3 separate regions of the Homo sapiens genome follow, and regions 1 and 2 are each linked to region 3. The links are contacts of gene promoters, found by promoter capture Hi-C in human tissues and cell types (Jung and others, 2019). All regions are on one chromosome and are shown on one strand. The core of a region is centred on a gene start or on the middle of the fragment in contact, and the rest is flanking DNA. Distances in the headings are between cores, read along the strand shown.

The links. The method cuts DNA at HindIII sites, captures the fragments that hold promoters and counts their contacts. A contact is called where the count stands out against the background at its distance.
Region 1: a contact is called between a fragment that was not itself captured here and the fragment with the promoter of CPSF4L in region 3, in 1 of the 25 tissues and cell types used here (hippocampus).
Region 2: a contact is called between a fragment that was not itself captured here and the fragment with the promoter of CPSF4L in region 3, in 1 of the 25 tissues and cell types used here (dorsolateral prefrontal cortex).

Annotation. Positions count from the first base shown.
Region 1 is chr17:73,953,431-73,956,621 of GRCh38, reverse strand. No RefSeq gene overlaps it. Among named protein-coding and RNA genes, the nearest start is that of LINC00469, 130 kb to the right of the region's middle. The HindIII fragment of the contact is 4,278 bases long and covers 1-3,191 here.
Region 2 is chr17:72,539,366-72,542,550 of GRCh38, reverse strand. All of the region lies in intron 1 of LINC00673 (long intergenic non-protein coding RNA 673), which reads left to right. Among named protein-coding and RNA genes, the nearest start is that of LINC00673, 52 kb to the left of the region's middle. RefSeq lists a silencer at 1,949-2,198. The HindIII fragment of the contact is 3,812 bases long and covers 1-3,185 here.
Region 3 is chr17:73,260,324-73,263,537 of GRCh38, reverse strand. CPSF4L (cleavage and polyadenylation specific factor 4 like) reads left to right here and starts at 1,658. Exons shown (of 6, transcript NM_001129885.1): 1 at 1,658-1,822; 2 at 2,555-2,605. The coding sequence starts at 1,720. The HindIII fragment of the contact is 16,084 bases long and covers 1-3,214 here.

The DNA of each region.
Region 1 (3,191 bases), core at 427-2,926, 690 kb before region 3:
AGATGACCTTGGGCAAGGAGTAGTTTCTTTGCCTTCATCATCGGCCTCATCATCATCAGCCTTTATGCAGCACTTGCTATGTGGAAGGTACCATGCCAAGCGTTTTATATGGTCTGAGTCACTGAGTCCTCACAGCAATCTGTGATGTGGGTGCTATTACCACCCCATTGTACAGATGAGAAAATCAGGAAATGAAGCCTCCTTGCATTCTCTGGGGTTTCTCAGCTCCAGCACTGGAGGACTCTGTGCTGCTTCTTTGTTGATTCAATCTAATCTAGCCAGAATCAAGGGCACACCCAGGTAGTTAGAGTAAATTACTGCACTGCACCACTGCATTAATATACAAGCCTGGAGACTTCTGGCAATTTGGGGGAGTTTCTGGATCTTTCTGGAAAATTCCTGCATTTTTCTCCCTTCCTTTTCTTCTAGAAGCAGGAGTAAGGGGAGTAGGGGCATGGCAGCCAAGGTTGTAGCATGGGAAAAGGCGTGTCTGTCTGGCAGTTCCAATTCTGTACCTGCTGAGGGCCCTCTTGGGGCCCGCCTTTCCTCCTTTTTTTGGGAAATGTGGCATTGGATTCTCTGACAGCCTTGCCATCTTCTCTATAAGTAGGGGCTCTCCAGGAGGGCAATTAGATACTTCCCTAGGGTCTGAAAATGACCAGCACTCAGATACTTTCCCATAAAGGGGAAGACATGCGTGGCTGTGGCTAAGGAAGTCCCTCTCCCATTCCATCTCCATGGACACCAGCCAGAACATCTACTCCAGGAAGCATCCGAGGTGGAGCTGCCCATGCCAGAGCTTCCCCCAGCACCGTCCAACTAGGGGGTGACCCAGGTGTCTGGCTGGACACTTGCTGCTGGCAGAGTTGTGTCATCATTGCCAAAGAAATCTCAATGGAAACAGCCCGATCTGCTCAGGGGGAATTACAGACTAATGGGAGAAGAGGTGATGGCGATAGGTTCACACATACTCACACATCTAGGAAAGTGAAATGGCTAACCTCCCACAGGAATGGGGCTCAGGTTGAATTCATTACTCACCAAAACGATGCCCAATAAAGAGGGAGATCCGAGTGGAGTGGAACGATTCCAGAAAGTGCCTTAGAAGTGAGGTTTTTAGTTTTTGCTTTTCGGATCTCCCCTCCCCTTCCCGTCCCTTCCTTCTTTTCTGTCTTTTCTTCTTTTCTTCCTTTCTTTTTTTTTTTTTTTTTTTTTTTGACAACATCTTGTTCTATCATGGCTCACTGCAACCTTGACTGGAGGGGCTCAATTATTCTCCCACCTCAGCCTCCCAAAGTGCTCGGATTACAGGCATGAGCCACTGTGCCGGGCTAAGTAGTGAGCTGAGGCAGAACTCCCATCTTTTAAAGGCCACACCCACCCACTACCCTCCCATCTTGACTGATGCCTTGATTGTACCCAGACCTGTGCCAAGGTGCAGGGAAAACTGCTTGCTGATTTAGTCATTTATTTATTCATGCCACAACCCAAAGTTGAAAGTCTACTTGCCAAACACACAGTGCCTGCGGTGATGCAGGGAGATTTTCTTGGAACGGGGATTTTGTCAATCAAGGCTCTAAGTCAGGAAGTACATGGAATACAGGCAGACAATTAAGGACGTTGACATTCTCCATTCTCTTTTTTGGAGAATGGCCCAGTGGTTTTATCCAAGGCTGCTTTGAAGCTCCAAGTTCAACCTGTAAAATGGCGGCCACTATGCATTCTTACGTACATTGAAGCTTGGGTAGCTCCTGTCTGCTCATTGAAGAAACACTTATGATGAACCTGTGTGCCCTGCACTGTGCTGCATGATTTGGGCGGGGAGGGGGAAGATGCAGAGAAACAATAGGTGATGTCCTTGCCACCAAGGTGCCCTTGGGCTCATGATGCCTCTGCTCAGATCCCACCTGCCTGACCTGAATACGCCTGTACCTCTCACCACTCCACTGTCCACAATGTCTGTGTAGCTGGTAGACACTGCCTGGGCTTCAGTACGAGATTGTGTGTGTGTGTGTGTGTGTGTGTGACTGTGTGAATGTGTGTAAGCATGTCTGTTGTGAGAATGTGCATAATAGGGTGTGTGTGAATGTGCCTGTGTGAATGTGAGTGTGCCTGTGTGAGTTTGTCTCTGTCATGTATGTGAATGTGAGTCTGTGTTGCTGAGTGGGTATGCAAATGAGTATGTCTGAGTATGGGTGGGTCTGTGTGTTTATAGGTCTGTGTATGAGTGTGCCAGTATGTGTATTGGTGTGTAAGTGGGTGTGTGGTGTGCAAATGAGTGTACCTGTGTGCATTGGTGTGTGCATCTGTGAGGGGTCTATGTGTGTATTTGTGTCTGCGTGTGTCTGTGTATTTGTAAGGTATCTTGCATGAGTGTGTGAATGGTGTGTGCGTATATGTGTGTAAGTTTTGTGAGTCTGTGAATGAATGTGGGTGTTGGTGTTGTGTGTGAATGAGCATGCGTGTGGTGTGATCTTGTGTGAGGGGGTGTGTCTGTGTGTGAATGAATCTGTGTGAATGTGTGCATGAATGTGTGCCTGTGCGTCTCTGTGTGTATATGTATATGTGATTCTGTGTGTGTGTATATGTGATTGTGTGTGTCTGTGTTTATGTGATTCTGTGTGTCTCTGTGTGTATGTGATTCTGTGTGTCTGTATGTATATATGTGATTCTGTGTGTTCTGTATGTGTATATGTGTGTGTCTCTGTGTATATGTGTATGTGATTCTGTGTGTCTCTGCGTGTGTATGATTGTGTCTGTGTGTATGTGATTGTGTGTGTATATGTGATTCTGTGTGTGTCTGTGTGTGTATATGTGATTCTGCGTGCATATGTGATTATGTGTCTCTGTGATTGTGTATCTCTGTGTATATGTGATTGTGTGTCTGTGTGTATATGTGATTCCGTGTATATGTGATTGTGTGTCTGTGTATATGTGATTCTGTGTGTGTATGTGTGTGTATATGTGATTCTGTGTGTCTCTGTGTGTATGTTTATGATTCTGTGTGTGTCTGTGTGTATGTGTATATGTGATTGTGTGTTTGTGTGTGTGTGTCTGTGATTGTGTGTTAGGGTGTGTGAATGTGAGTGTGTGGGCATGGGCATGTGGGAATGTGTGTGTGAGGGTGTAAATACGTGAGGGTGTGGGGGGGGTGTGTGAATGTGTGTAAGAGAGTGTATATGAATGTGTCT
Region 2 (3,185 bases), core at 638-3,137, 720 kb after region 3:
TCTTGGAGGGAAGCACTGAGAGCTCTCATTGTACCTGGCAGTTGGGCTGTCATTGAGTGACCTTGAGTCAGAGCAGTTTCAGGGGCAGGGTGGGCGTGGAAGTCAATTGCAGAAGCCAGAGAAATGGCTGTGAGGGGCAATGCGGAGGAGTGTTTCCAGAAAGCCAGCTCCTGGGCAGGGGGCTGTCTAAAGAGCAGGGGTGGATCTACTGTGGAGATGAGGCAGAGCCCCTCCCCTACACAGCCCTCCCTGACTGGCCTCAACTGTGTATTTACAACTTCATATCTTAAAGAGGCTGCCTCTCCCTCTAGAAAACATGTATGTTTCAGGTCTCACAAAACCTGGATCCACCTACGGCTGGGGGTTGGGGGATGGATGGAAAGATGGGATCAAGGAGTGTAAGTGAAGGAGCTGGCTCTCAGGCTCTGACTCCAGGCCAGGCAACCTTGAGTGAGTTTTTGGACCTCTGGGTGCTTCCATTTCCTTTTCTGTAAAAAACAAACAAACAAACAAACAAACATCATAAAAAACTCATGTCCTAAGGTCGTGGTAAAGGTTAAAGAAGATAAAGTACAGAAGGAATTCGCACAGTGCTTTGCACAGAGCAAACGCTCTATGCTTTTCCTGTAATTTCCTGTTATAGTGTTCATATTAATATGCATATTCCTGATTGGTGCTCTGAGAACTTTTCCGTTGCTGTGTTGGGTTCCTCCAGTGGTTTGTGGATGGAGATCATGGGGTGTGTTAGTCCATTTGCATTGCTATAAAGGACTATCTGAGCCTAGGTAGTTTGTAATGAAAAGAGGTTTATTTGGCTCAGGGTTCAGCAGGCTGTACAGGAAGCATGGCCCTGGCATCTGCTTGGCTTCCGGTGAGGCCCCAGGAAGCTTCCAATCATGGCAGAAGGTAAACGGGAACCAGCATGTTACATGGCAAGAGGGAAAGCAAGAGATGGGGGAAGGTACCAGGCCCTTTTAAACAATCACATCTCACATGAACTCTTTTCTTTCTTTCTTTTTTTTTTTTTTTTTTTGAGATGGAGTCTTGCTCTGTCACCCAGGCTAGAGTGCAGCGGCACAGTCTTGGCTCACTGCAACCTCTATCTCCCAAGTTCAACCAGTTCTCCTGCCTCAAGCCTCTCGAGTAGCTGGGACTACAGGTGCGTGCCACCGCGCCCAACTAATTTTTTTGTATTTTTAATAGAGATGGGGTTTCACCATGTTGGCCAGGCTGGTTTCGAACTTCTGACCTCCAGGGATCCACCTGACGTGGCCTCCCAAAGTACTGGGATTACAGGTGTGAGCCACCATGCCAAGCTCACATGAACTGTTCTAGTGAGAACTCACTCGTTACTGTGAAGATAGCACCAAACCATTCATGAGGAATCCACCCCCATGATCCGAACACCTCCCACTAGGCCCACCTCCAACACCGGAGATCACATTTCAGTATGAGATTTGGAGGGAACAAACAGCCAAACCATATCACGTGCTCTCTTCTTGAGTCACCCCATAATTTGTACCCAAAGACCAGGGGGCATATGGGATCACGTGCTGTTTCCAGGAGAGATGTGTTGTAGGTTTGTGGGCCTTGAAGGGCTGTGGGCAGTGATCCCGCCCAGATTCTCTAGACACATGTTCCAATGGTGTCCGCTCACAGACATGGACCCCAGATCTGCGCCATCCCCTGCAGGATGCCCCAGAGCAGCGAGATGCCCCCTTTGCTCTGGCGCCACTCTCTGAGAACCAAACCTTTTAAACTGTGAGCAAGTTGCTGGAGAAGAGAATGGGCCTGGGACTGCAAAAGTAACCTCTCTCCCGAAGGAGGAGACAGGATTCCCGAACATCCTCTGGGGCAGCCCTGGGTGGTGGAGTGCGCCTGGACAGCTGGTGTCCGTCTGCAGGCTCCTGCCTCAGGCCCTGGAGTGGCAGCTTGGCAGGTCCAGACCCTTCCCCAGGGACAGTTGCGGCTGGGAACCCTGGACCTCTTCCCTGGGCCTGAGCCGCTTCCCCGTGCGGCCGTTCGCCGAGTGGCCACTTGATGGCGCTGTGGCTCCACCGGGCGCGGGCGCGGGCGGAGCGGCGCGTCTGCTTCCAGCCGCCGGGCCGGTGCTGCCGCGGTCACCCCCGGCGCCTGGCTGTGCCCGGCGCGTCCGCCCTCCCGGCGCGCGGCTGGTGGGGCGCAGCCCTCGCGGCCGGTTCTGCCCGAAGCACAAAGCCACTGCTCAGAGCCAGCGCCTCCTGCTTGCAGCTCCCCAGTGAAAGAAGTTTGGGTCCTTGGTGGTGTTTTTCTCCCTGGCCTGGATGGTCCTGCAGAGGCCCCTTGCCACCTAATGACTTTATTCTTCTTAAAACATGTTTCTTTCTTTCTTTGCTTCTTGTTTTTGTTTTGATTTGTTTATTGGCCTGTACTCCGTTTCTGCCGTCTTACCAATAGCTCCTGACCAAGCCCGAGGCCTGCTAGAGAACTGTAGTTTAATTTAACCTCCACCGGCCAGGCTGGTCTGTTTCCTCTTTTCAAGCTTCCCTGCGGTTCTAACTTTGCTCCAGAAGATTCCTCCTGGAGCTTTTGCTTGGGAGAGAAAGGCGTTTGAACGCAGAGTTCAAGCGAGCTGGCCAAAATGGAATGCAAAAGAAGAAAATTTAAAAGAGAAAAGAAGGAGGCTTCTCAGAAATGAACTTTTCATCTGATTCCAAACATTCTGCAGTGCAGTTTTGTAAAAATACCAGAAAACACAAAGAAGCAAATAAAACACATCCATGATTTTGCGTCTAGAAATGGCTTTTGTATTTTAATATGTCTTTCCACGATTTATTGTCATTGCATAGATATACGTTCCCTTTCATCCCCCCGATTGGGTCAGTTTACTCATTTAGCTGGGTCGCCTGCTTTTTCATTGAACGCACTGGGAGCGTTTTTCCTTGGCAAGCTGGTTTCTGCAAGTTTCCCTCAAGTTTCCCTCAAACTCTTGAAGTTTTGCATGCAGGTCACTCCCAGGCAGGTTGCTGTGTGAGATAGCCTCACTGAAGCTGGGATTTGGACGTTTGGAAGAGGATGATTGAATTGTAGCTTCCAGGGAGGACAGAATTGTGAGCTCTTTTTGGAAGACCAGAGTTACCCATATTTGTTTAGCAAAGCGAGCAGGCCCACTTCAAGTCAGCGGTTCTCAAAGAGCCTGAGCAGGG
Region 3 (3,214 bases), core at 409-2,908:
CCAACCTTCATACTGCTGGCCTTCTTCCAGAACATTCTCTCCCCATCATCATGACTCTCCATTGAGAGAGCTCTGCCTGCTACCCCTTCCTGCCCTGCTGGGCCCCTCATGCCTCCATCGCATTATTGTGTGAATGGCTAATGTCCCCTCCTTGATGGGGCCATCTCTGAGGATAGGGACGTGGCCCTAGTGCAGAGATGCTCAGGGATGTTTAGGGAAGGAAGTCATCAAGAGACCTAGATGTGAACCCCATCCATAGCGCCTCCCAAACCATGTGGTCTTGGCCTCCCTGGGCTTTGATTCCCTCATCAGTCCTGCCTGCGCTGCCAGGCTTCTGTGAGCCTTTAATGAGCCTGTGTTGACAGATGAATGCATTCTTGGGACTACTAATCAACGCATACAACTAAGGCCAAGAGAAGCCAGGGTTTCTACCCCAGGGACCCCCTTGGCCCCACCCTCTAGCCCTGGAGCTGGGTCCCTCTGCCTCTCCCAGGATGCAGTCAGAGGCCTGAGCTTCTGGAAACTCTTGGATCTCGTCCCTGCTCCTCCCAGTCCCACCTCGGCTCCAGGTGTCTATCTCTCCAGCTATTTTCTTTTCTGATCTGGAGTTCAAAAGAACAGATCTAGGAGCAACAGCCACGGGGAACAACAGCCAGCAGGCTAGTTCATGTTGGCCCAGCTGAGAGCCTGCGGGGCTGCCCACCTCTCCCTGCTGGGTTTGGGCACCCAGAAAGGAGGGCGTATGGGTTCTGGTTCTATGGGCATTAAAAGCCAATGTGACTGAGAACAGCAGCTCTAGTTAGAGGCAAGGCCAGTTTGGGGCCAGAGCAGGGGGAGGGGGAACCTGGTCTAATTAGAGCCCTAACATGCTCCTTTGAAAGCATTGTCAGATGTCCCCAGCCCTGCAGGCAGGGGTGGTGTAATAATAATAAAACAACATTTGCATAGAGATTTCATTTATAAAGCACTTTCTCAGGGGTGGGGTGGCACTGGGTGGCCCTGTGGAATCCTGGCTGGGAGGCCGCCCTGGCCTTGGTCGGTTCCGCCCTCCCGCCAAGCTGGCGATTGTGTGCGAGGTAAACAAAGCGCCATTCATCCAACTGTTTCAGTTCCTCTCCTCTTCATTCCTTTTTCCCTGTCTCCCACGAAGAGCTCACTCGGGGCTTGTCACTCAGGCCAGAAAAGGGGTGTCAGGGGCCCCAGAGGGAGACCCCTTCCCTCATGGGAAGAAGCGGGGAGGTGGGACGGCTCCCTCCCTCTGCAAACCCCCACCACCCCCAGCTCTGGCAGAATAACAGCCTTGCTGCGGTTGGTTTGTGCAACTCTTTGCTAACCTGTGGCTGTGTCTTCATGGACAAAGTATGAGCCCAGGTTTGGTAATGTCTGTGTGCACGCCACGTTTGTGTTCGGTAACATGCAAAGATAAGCAGTTTGTGGGGCTCTGCGAATCCCTCCCTATCCGAGTGAGCCTTGTGTACACAGTGTGGGGGTGAGGGGCCCTGGGGTGTCTGCCCCTGCACTGGGTGGGCCGGGTGAGGCAGCTGGGCCCTGCTCCTGTACAGCCCAGGCTGGAGCGTCCCCTGCAGTCACCTGGCCACTGGCACCCTGGGGTGAAGGGGGAGGCATTGGGCGCTGGCCCCTTAAGGGCCTCTGATGAGCTATATTGGGCCCACCTGCCTGGGTTCCAGCAGCTTCCGCAGCCCCAGCAGGAGACGGAAGATGCAAGAGGTCATTGCGGGGCTAGAGCGGTTCACCTTTGCCTTCGAGAAGGATGTCGAGATGCAGAAGGGCACTGGGCTCCTGCCTTTCCAGGGCATGGACAGTGAGTGAGGGTGGGGCCACTTTCCCTCCCCTACCTTCTCTGTTTTTTTTTCTTTGAGACGGAGTCTCGCTCTGTAGCCCAGGCTGGAGTGTAGTGGCACAATCTCGGCTCATTGCAAGCTCTGCCTCCTGGGTTCACGCCATTCTCCTGCCTCAGCCTCCCGAGGAGCTGGGACTACAGGCGCCCGCCACCACGCCCAGCTGATTTTTTGTATTTTTAGTAGAGACCGGGTTTCACCATGTTAGCCAGGATGGTCTCAATCTCCTGACCTCGTGATCCGCCCGCCTTGGCCTCCCAAAGTGCTGGGATTACAGGCATGAGCCACCACGCCCAGCCTCCCTCCCCCTTCCTTCTCTACAGGCCTCTCTGCTCAACTCCCTGATGCGACCGCCCCTTCTCTGTCTCTCTCTTCTGTGGCTTCGGGGCAACCCATTTTCCAGACTGAGAAAGAGAGGCACAGAGAGACGGTGAATTGAGAGAAGCCACACTGGCCTCCCGAGCTCCTGGGCCAGGCTTGAGCCCCTCGAGCTCCTCTGTTTCAGAGTTGGGGGGTTAAGGGTTGAGGTCTGCTGGCTGGCTCTGCAGGTTAACCTCTACAGGGCCCAGATTTGGGATCCCATAGGCCAGAGCCTGGGGGAGGTCTAGGTGGGACATGCCGATGGAGGTGGAGGCTTCCGGAACAGCTGCAGCCTCTGGGGAAGCTACCTTCTCCGTTCCCTCTTCTCCTTCCAGAGTCGGCCTCAGCTGTGTGCAACTTCTTCACTAAAGGGCTCTGTGAGAAAGGTGAGTTAGCAGACAGGCCTGGGCCCCAAGCTGGGTGAGTGTAGGGTCTGTCTGAGCTACACCCAGCAGGGGCTCTGCCTGGCCTGGGATAGGGTGTCGAATTTGCACCTGGGGAGGGAAAATTGGGATGGAACGGAATTTTATTTTTATTTTATTTATTTATTTTTAGATGGAATCTCGCTCTGTTGCCCAGGCTAGAGTGATCTGGCGTGATCTCAACTCACTGCAACCTCTGCCTCCTGGGTTCAAGCGATTCTCCTTCCTCAGCCTCCCGAGTAACTGGAACTACAGGTGCATGCCACCAAGCCCGGCTAATTTTTGCATTTTTAGTAGAGATGGAGTTTTGTCATGTTGGCCAGGCGGGTCTCAAACTCCTCACCTCAGGTGATCCACCTGCCTGGGCCTCCCAAAGTGCTGGGATTACAGGCGTGAGCCACCATGCCCGGCCATGGAGCAGAATTTTAGACTTACAGGTAGACAAAGGATAAGTGGTTGGATCCACCGAGCAGCCTGCCCCTCCCCTAAGATTTTCCCGCCTCAGCAGCAGTCTTCATAGTTTGCAGTTCGCATCAGGGTAACCAGGCTGCCTGGAAAGGGGTATTTTTTTCT